Linked DNA regions of Homo sapiens: region 2 is linked to region 1. Evidence: promoter capture Hi-C in 16 types of primary human blood cells and fetal thymus (Javierre and others, 2016). All regions are on one chromosome and are shown on one strand. The core of a region is centred on a gene start or on the middle of the fragment in contact, and the rest is flanking DNA. Distances in the headings are between cores, read along the strand shown. Region 1 holds the start of PEX5L-AS2 (PEX5L antisense RNA 2). Region 2 overlaps SOX2-OT (SOX2 overlapping transcript).

Region 1 (4,869 bases), core at 1,583-4,082:
TCAGAAATAACACAGCTTGATTTTAAGATAACAGGTGGAGGAGGCAATTTGATTTGGGGGAAATCTTGCATTGATACATGAGTGTATTCACTTGATTTGGCAGTGGTTTTAGACACTGTATCTGGTACCATGGAGATGTCATTGTGGCAGACCTTCCCATTCTGTCCTCAGACTGTACCGCACTTGTAAAACAGTGACGCTCATGGGGTATTATCGCAAAAGCCAAAAAAGGCTGTAAAGAAAAAAGTTGCTAGCAGGCACTAACATGGGTGTGTCATGACTCTTTTCAGGTAGTAGGTGTAACCTTGAAGAAAAAGTGGCACTGTCTTCAAAAAAGTGACCTGACCCTGGCTTTGGTGGGTTTTTTCTGCAAGAAATAAAAAGCACCGCATGTATTTATTGTACATCCTTTCTAGCTGACCACTGCTTTGTTCTAGAGTTCAGCATGAAAGGACTAATTTTTGTTTTGTTTTTGTTTTTGTTTTAGTGAAATGGCATGTCCCTTGCTAACTCTAGCTATTATAGTTGCACATGTAAAAAAGTATCTCTATGTAGTTTATGGATTGGTAGCATTTCAAATAAATAATGTACTGAAAAATTGACCTGAAATTTTTTGAGATGCTTATCAATTGACATTTTTTCTTAGCCCAAGAAAAGAATCTAAATTATTATTTTCTTAAATTAAATTATACCTTGTAACATTAGATTTGTTATTTTAAATATAATAGGAATTGAAATATAAGCATGCCACTTTGTTTATTGCTATATTACTAGAACTTACTGAAGCATGGAAAGAATTCTTCACAAATGACTTTGCTCTCTTGAAAAACGTAAGCTGCAAAAATATTTGTTATAAACCATATTTAGTCTGTAAATGAGTGTAGCTTATAAAGATGTACTAAGTTTATAGCGTGTGATGTTTCATCCAAATAATTTTTATATTTTGATAAAATGTAAACAAGTTATAGTGCCATAATAAATCTTTTCCCAGAATTCAGAATTGTTTGCATCTCCATTTTAGGAAGTTCACATTGCTTCATTAAAGAAGAAACCTGGAATCATTGTGCACCTCAATTTGTTATGCAATGAATCAAGTTATCCTTTATTCTTCCAGAAGTCAGTTATTCTATGAATTGTGGCCATATAAACTTTTCAAAACACATACATATATGAAAATTACTACTGACATATCTGCTGAATAAAATCTCTAGTATTTGATATTCCATCTTGGAAATAACACATTATAATTCAATAATGCTAGTTATAAAGTCAAAACAAAACAAAGAAACAAACTTTCAGCATTGTAAACAGATACACACATTTAAAAATCTATTAGCTATACAAAAAGTTTTTCTTTGTTCTCATAAAGAAAAGCTGCCTCTGGCTACATTTTAGAAAGTCAGTGCCTGAGAAAATGGATAATGTTTTGATCCCTAGAGTAAACCTACCTTCTAAATACTTAAAGCCCTTTGAAAGCACAAGATAATGATGTAATTGTATCCTTTTTGTTGCATGGAAACGATCAAGCTTTATTAAGTTCTGAGTTAATATCAACCCTGGCTCTTAATTCCCTTTTCCAATATTAGACCCCCATATGTCGGTTTTCGTTTCTCTGCCTGTGATAGGTCTGTCTGCTACATTTGTATTTTAAGTAGATTTACAACACAAATATTCATATCTTTTCTTAGTATAAAATTATTTTCTTCAGGGAGGCTTTACCCAGAGACCTGAGAAAATTGAAGTTTTTGTTTTTAAAGTATTTAAGGATTATTTAATTTTTACATAGTATGAAATTTTTCTAATTGGGATGGAAAGGTAATATTTTGGGGGGCTTTCCCATTATACCATATCTAGTCTCAAAAAATGTAATAATCTGGTAAACTCAAATAACAGAAAGCCACCATATCCCTTTACAGTTTATAATTCTACTTCTTTGAGACAAATAACATAGGGATATGTATGTGTTTGTATACATATTATCTATATATATACATATACATTTGTATCTATAGATATATAGAGAGATATAGATTAGTGCCACAATATTAATTATCCTTTACGTCAGTTATGGATTATCCTTTACGTATTAATTATCCTTTATGTCTGTATTTATGGGGTTCTTCAGTTAAAAGACACTTCTAAAACTCTATTAAAATTATTTGGTCTCAAAAACATTGAAAGTTGCAAAATGTTTTTTTCATGAAGTTTATACCATCTCCACAAAACAGACTGGGTGAATTACTGTTATGTCAAGCCACTGGAGGATTTTTAGATATTTTGCAACATTTTTACTCTTTTTATCCCAATCCACTCAAAAATGGCAAAGACTCCAGAGATCACCCAGCAAAAGCCCTCTGTGGGAGTTGGATCCTGCTTCTAATCTCTATCCCAAACTCCTGTCATTCAAAATATTTAGGAATTATGTAGTAATAATTTATAAATGAACGTAGCAGGCAACCCATAGTGTTTTTAAATTGATATTACAAAAAATTCATGTCATGTTAATTTCCTTAAAACATATTATACATATAAAATACTATGTTAAAATTAAATGTAATATGTCAGCTGTAAAGGGGAAAAAGTAGCTAACTAAAAGTTCACAAATAATCTTTTTTCAGATTTTGTGTGTTTTCTCCTCAGCCAAAAGCCTCAAGATTCACTTGCAGCAGCCTACCTCTTCATTTATGTTGGATTGCTCTTTAAACATTAGAATATCTTGTAATAAATAATAAGTTAAAGATCTCTCCTGACACAGTCATTGTTGATTTCACTGTTATAGGGAAAAGGCTCTAGGGCGGCAGATAAGGCTGTTGCCATGGTGATGAAGGAGATACCGAGGGAGGAGTCTGCTGAAGAAAAGCCCCTCCTTACTATGACATCACAGGTGGGCAGACCCATAGGGTTTCTGTAGGAAGCTGACATATGTTAATATATCAGACATTGTGATTTTTAACTAGAAAAAAAAAACTTTAACTCTTGAACCAATTTTTTTAAAGACAGTTTCAATGAAACAATTATACAAATATAGATGAAAACCAAAATTGCTAAAAAAAGAAAAATTCACCATCTAGTTATTTATTTGTGAATATTAATTTCATTACTCAACTTTAGTTAAGACAAAAGAGAAAGAGAATATATGTGCAAGTAAAACATGTTGCTTCTTTATAAAGGAGTCTTGTTAAAAACTTTGGGAAAGAAATAACAATTAAGCTAACAGTACATTTGAACAAAAAAAAATCAAATTCCTATGAATAAAAACAAGTTATATTGTATACATATGTCAGTTTACCAGTAGAATATCTAAATTTTCTTAAATGTTAAATATATTTATGTTGTGACTATGCATACTACATATATGTCTATACATATTTATGTGGATAACTAATTTACAGGAATGAGCCAGAAGTCCCTGAGTCCCCATGCAGAAAATGGCATTTGTGACCCCTCTTATACATAGTGACCTTGAGAACAAAAATGTCATCTCTATTATAAGCACATGAGAGCCATTTTCAGCATTTATTATAACAAGTATAGAAAAAAGTCTTCATTTGTATGCAAAGACATGTGGAGACTGTGAATCCTATATGTCCTCGGGGACTTTTGAAACACCCTGTAAAATCTACATAAATATGTATAATGTACTCATCACCACTCTGTGGAACTACCAGTTTTAAAATCGCAAATGAGAAATATTTTTACTTGCATTTATCTTATAATTTAGATTAGATTATTTTAAACATTTCATTTTTTCCATTCAGTTCCGATTATATGATTCAGTTCCGATTATATGAACATGCCTAGAATTCGAAAAATGTCCATTTACAGTCCTCATGAAAGACATTTATATCAAAAGCTAAATTATGGCAACTTATTTTTAGAATATCAGCGGATCTCATCCCCAGCTGCTGCCAACATGTGTGGTTTTACTTTATTCTAAATACTATGTTGTAAGTTATAAAAATTATAACATATAACATCAAAATTAAATAATTTTTAAAGCTATTAAAGATTCCCAAGACTTTGGGATACATTTTATGTTTTCAGCTTTTTTTATCCCAAAAGAAGAGATGCTACTTCCTAATAACACATGGTAATCATTGGAAAGAAATTTGCTTGATATTTACCAAATTCCTCATTCTTTACTTAATATACATAGTAAAACATATACAGTTTTACACTGAATCAGAGTCAGACCTCTGTAGACTCCCATGTCCAAAATTTTAAGTCCACAGTCCCTCAGGTGAATGCTATGGAAGGTGAGAACTACTTGAAGTTCTTGCTTAAGGGCAGAGCCATACAACGGTAGATAAGACCTAACCAAATTTGCAATTGGCACAGTTGTACTGTAACATATCACCTCAGGACTTCACAATCTAGGGCAGGTTCCAGTACCCAAGATTCTTTTTTCACAAAATCACGCATTGCTGTGTACTTTCTGATAATCTTTTCACATGTCCAAAATTACCATTATAACCTAGGCTTGCATTTAAAATTTAATGCAAAATAACATTTTTGATTTTTAATTTAGAAAAGAAATTGTGATTATTACCATTTTCTCATATCCAGGACATTTGTTTGTACCAAGTTCTTCCTTTAATCCCTGTCTAATGTTGCATTAACTGTTTTTGAGGTATTAGTTACACTTTACTGCATGAAGATTACAGAATGCTTTATCTGATGCATCATATTCTTGTTGCATACTGGCCGGTTTATGAATCAGCAAACAGAGTTCTGATTCAAAAAATTTAATGCACCTGTTGTGTTGATAGTATTACAGAATTAATTTAGTGACAGCTGTAATACAATTATTTCTCAGTCAAATGCAGTTTTATTAGTTGATATACTTTTTCCACTATACACAAGTGGCTT
Region 2 (4,869 bases), core at 1,643-4,142, 1.4 Mb before region 1:
AATTATTTGAATTCCCTATTCATACACAGTACCAAAATCAAGGGTTGATAAAATTCCTTCAATCATTGCTCAATTTTGAAATTTCATTAGATTATAGTATCAAATGAAGGCCTGGATTACATCAGATATCTGCACAGTTACTCTAAGTTATAAAATATCTATCCTCGGGTAGAGGATTGAAGGAGAATTATAGGTCTGACACAGGCAGGAAAGTTTTTATTGAAGAATAATGATTCATTATACAGCATCATTGGTGATAAAATTGTCCAAAAAGTCGATTTCCCAAGTAATTGAAATTTACTCATTTACAGTTTCCAAATTTTCATATTAAAAATTATGCTTCTAAAATGTATTACAGGCTTTCTGACTTATATTAAGCAAATAACATTACAAATAATTCTTCCTTGAGCTCATTATATTAAATATCAATCATTATTTTAGACAACTCAAGTATGTAACAGGGCCTTTTGCTCCTACATTAAATGGCCTCAGACTACTATACACTTTGAGTTTTGTAGGATTAAAAAAAAATTATCCAGAAACAATTTTAGACTTACTTAAAGGTTGCAAAAAAGTATAGTCTCCATATATATCCTTCACTCAACTTCCCCTAATGCTATTATCTTATTTAACCACAATATAATCTTTAAAACCAAGAAATTAACATTGGCAAAATACTACTAACTAGATTGAAAACTTTACTCAGATTTCACCAGTTACTAATGCCAAATCTGTGTTCCAGGATCCAACCCGGAGCCCCATATTGAGTTAAATTTTTTGTCTCCTTAGCATCCTCTAATCTGTGACAGATCCTTGGTCTGTCCTTGTCTGTCATGATCCTGTCACTCTTGATGAGTCCTAGTCAGTTTATTACATGGACTGTTCTTCAATTTGTGACTTTTCTAATGATTATACCGAGGTCATACATTTTTGGTAAGAAATGCTACAACACAAGGAAGGTCATGCCCTTTCTTTGGTAATCATATCAGAGGGTTCATGATGCGATATGTCTTATTCCTGATGATGTTAACCTTGATCACTTGGTTAAGGTGGTGTTGGATGAGATATTCCAAGTAACTATTTTCCCTTTGTAATTAGCAAATGTTTATTTGAATTATTAACACAGTTCTTCCAACTCTGTTTTCAGAACGAGGCATCAGATGTCACTCCTTATGCCTACCACTAGTAACTTGCCTTTCTAATTTAGGCTTCAATATCAGGGAAAACAATGATTTGTTAGAATTCTTTTTAAAATTAAAAAAGTGCATTCTAGGCAAGGGTTTATTGTGTACTTTTAAAGATATGTCTTTTTGCTGCTGGACATCCTTTATAGTTAAATTCATGTTCCCAGTTTTGAGACTTTCTATCTAGAATCTAAATTGTTAATAATGTCTGATAAGTGGACCTTCCTAAGCCAAGTATTATCTTAATGGTACTTATATATCAAGTGAAGATACCTGAAAACTCAGAAATGGGATCATCACAATTTGACTTATTAAATATATGTTTCCAGCTCAACAAGCTAGGGTACCCTCCTGTCTATAATCCTTTCCCAGAGGATGGAACAAAAAATTGAAATAGCAGAAGTTTGACATCCATTAATTTTATTCACCCTTAATATATCAAATGTAGACAGGAGAATCTGATGTGGCACCTATGAACCAAAAAGCTGTCTCATGATGACATGAATGTTAACCATCCTTTCCACATCTCTAAATTTCAGGTTCCCAGCTCTGAATCACCCAGGCTGCAGAAGCAACACAAGATCTAATCTTCATATTCCATTTGCCCAATACTGTCTATATCTTGGAAAAATCTTACTAAAAAGGTCTGTCTTCACGATGTCATCAAACCCATTCCTCTGCTTCTACATAGGCTTTCATGGAAACCATTTCAGAAAGGAAGCTGTGTGCCTTAATCTCTAATTTTTCAGAGAACACTTCTTTCTTATTATGTGTCTTTTACATTTCCTTTTCATTTCAAAGATCTATGTAAATGAAACATGTTTCTTCCTACAGTGAGATACATTTTAAAGTACAGTATATGTTTAGCATATATTTAAGATATTTTATAGGTTTCTACCGTTTTAATTTGATGAGGGTGAGCTCTAGCCCATTCTTCCTTTTTATATAACCTGATAAAAACCCCAACATTTCTCAAGTACAATGTCCAAATAAAATGTGATTTATGGTTCCCTATCTCCCTTGTGCATGTTTCCTAAAAATGATTGAGTCACTGTTGTTCTGTTGTTTAATCTGATAATTATACAAGCACAAATCTTATATTGGAGCAGAAAATGTTAACACACATTGAAAAACCAAAAAGCATGGAACTATAATCTGTATGATAAAATGTATTACTCTGTTTAAAAGGATTGTTTTACAGATGCAATTAACAATCAGCGATCATACAGTTTAGACCGGTGTTTTGATGCCATCTGTTGGAATAAGTCCTCTCTCTCTCTCTCTGGAATAAAGCTGTAATTTTCAGTTTACAGTTTCATTAAGGAACACACAGTACAACAGTCACCAACAGAAGAAAAATCCTAAACACTTTCAATTTTATAGCCTTCCAGAAACAAGAATGTTGCTGAAATTTTCTAAAAGAGAGAGAATTTAGAAAATTAGCAGCATGACCACAGATTGCTATTTTATTTCACAGCCTTTAAATATCACCAGCAGTTCAAATGCCAATGATGGTTTTAAAATTTTAGTTTCCATGTTTGAAATACGATATTCATTCTTTATTTATAATCTTTATTAACTTTAAGAAATGCTTTCCCTGTGCCTAAACAAATTATGTCATAATGCCAGTGGGAAAAGTTAACAAATAACCTGTCTATTGGAACACATTCCTGTTTGTTATTAGCTTATTAAATGCCAGATCACACCTTTGGGGGCTTTAAATACACTAGGGGGTGCTAGTTCTCTACATGTACACATTTACAAAGTGAAACGTTTTCTACAATTAATTTTTGGGAATTATAAAAGTTGATCTAAAATTCTAAAACAGTACGTTGGCTGCATATTACGTGTGAAGAAGACAAACAAAAAGAACTCATTAAAATTGCACTAAGAACTAAACAGCAAGAGTCCAAGTGGAAATACAATTATACATTGCAAGAGGTAAGATCGATACAGTTTTGTTTCATGGTTCAGACATCAGTTGCTAGTATCAAACAAAACCTGAAAGAAAGCCACAGCTTTTCAAAAAGTAAAGTATCAGACTTGAAATTCTTAGTGCTCTTTATTATGTCTATGGTGTTCCAAAAGAAATACAAAGCAAAACTACCAGGGAGAAGAGGTTTCTTTACTAAATTTAGACAACTTATTTGAGATTCTCTTCCTTTGATATGTTATTCAAACAGTCTCAAATGACAAGAAGTCACCATTAAGATCTGAACTTATGCTCTACAGTAGGCTGGCAAGTTGCCTCAAGTAACTAATGGCTCTCTCTGTTAGGTCTTGGAATATTTGCATGATGAAAGTACACACACATGCACACACACACACACATCAGTGTAAAGAAAGAAACAGTTTTACTTTTTGTAATTTTAAAAACAGAATCAAGTCCAACAGGGTCATTATCACAGATTCCATTCTATAGGTAGTATGTGGGTGGGGGAAAAGGGTCTATTTTTTCCTTATTCTCTTTGGGCTTAATTTTCCTTCTTTGAAAAGACTAACCAATAGCACTCCAGATATACTCAAATTCAGGCAAAGCATACTAACCTACAACTTTCCACCTTCAGAGATAGGTTGAATTTCAATAGCTTTTCTTCTACATAGAGGCTCTGGCATTTCTTTGTCAATTGTCAGGATCTACTTCAACCTCATTTTGTTTCCCTCTCTTCCCGTTCTACCAAGCAGCATGCATCTATCTGGTCTCTTTGGTCAACTACAAGTAGCCCAAAAATTGTTCCCAGGTTGTCATATTTCCTGCCCCACCAAATGCCCTAGCAGTACTTGATAGGTTTTACAGACTTGCTATACATTGCTCATAGCAGGAAATATCACACCTAGCAGGAGTTTGTCCAAAACACTTTGACATTATGGTAAAGAACATTTAAAACGATTTAGGCGAAGTTGTATCTTTGGATCACCACCTAGCATATCAACCCACAGCTATACCAGAAACAGAGTCAGGTACTTTTCATAAACAAACACAAATAGTCTAACACTCCAGTGGTGTGCCAACAATGCACACATACAGGGTATAGTACCTTGATTGTTTGAACAATTAGCCAGACCCATATAGCAGTACTGAAGGGTTTTATGCAATGATCATGCATCATCCTAATCCGTGAGTATCCTCTATTATTTTATGATTTTATATCTCCAAACTACCTAGTAATGGCATTTGCACTGCAAATATGTAAATGTTTTAAATTTGCATTCAAAATGGCAATTTCATGGGTTTATTTTTAGTCACTTCAGAGACTCATCAGATTCATCAAGTTTTCATCCTTTCCTTGAGAACAGGGGACAAATCTAGCATTGGTTACACCTTGGTAAACTAGATGAAGGCAAGAAAATGGTTTTCAAAATAGTAATCATTAGAATTGTCAATTTCTATTGACAAACAGTATAAACTGTGCCATTCTATATTTGGAATCTGGGAATCATAGGGTTAGAAGGGGCTTAAAAGTCATTTTTATTAAACACCTTGCTCCCATGTATGAAGCTCCCCTGCTTATCACAGACAAATGGCTTTCCATTTTCAACTTAGACCCCACCATCGAAAATCACTCTCTTACTGGCATAATTGTTAGAAAGCTCTGCCTGTCTTCTCGCCATCGCTCTGTTTTTTTTTTTTTTCTTAATACCTTAAGTTCTGGGACATATGTGCAGAACAGGTTTGTTACATAGG

The links. The method cuts DNA at HindIII sites, captures the fragments that hold promoters and counts their contacts. A CHiCAGO score of 5 or more calls a contact.
Region 2: a contact is called between a fragment that was not itself captured here and the fragment with the promoter of PEX5L-AS2 in region 1, in 1 of 17 cell types (total CD4 T cells). The highest score is 5.8, in total CD4 T cells.

Annotation. Positions count from the first base shown.
Region 1 is chr3:179,896,157-179,901,025 of GRCh38, reverse strand. It overlaps PEX5L-AS2 (PEX5L antisense RNA 2), which reads right to left and starts at 2,832. Exons shown (of 3, transcript NR_110059.1): 1 at 2,675-2,832. It overlaps PEX5L (peroxisomal biogenesis factor 5 like), which reads left to right. Exons shown (of 15, transcript NM_016559.3): 3 at 2,780-2,884. The HindIII fragment of the contact is 5,337 bases long and covers 1,530-4,869 here.
Region 2 is chr3:181,276,932-181,281,800 of GRCh38, reverse strand. The region is part of intron 3 of SOX2-OT (SOX2 overlapping transcript); the gene reads right to left. Among named protein-coding and RNA genes, the nearest start is that of SOX2-OT, 220 kb to the right of the region's middle. The HindIII fragment of the contact is 6,428 bases long and covers 1-4,869 here.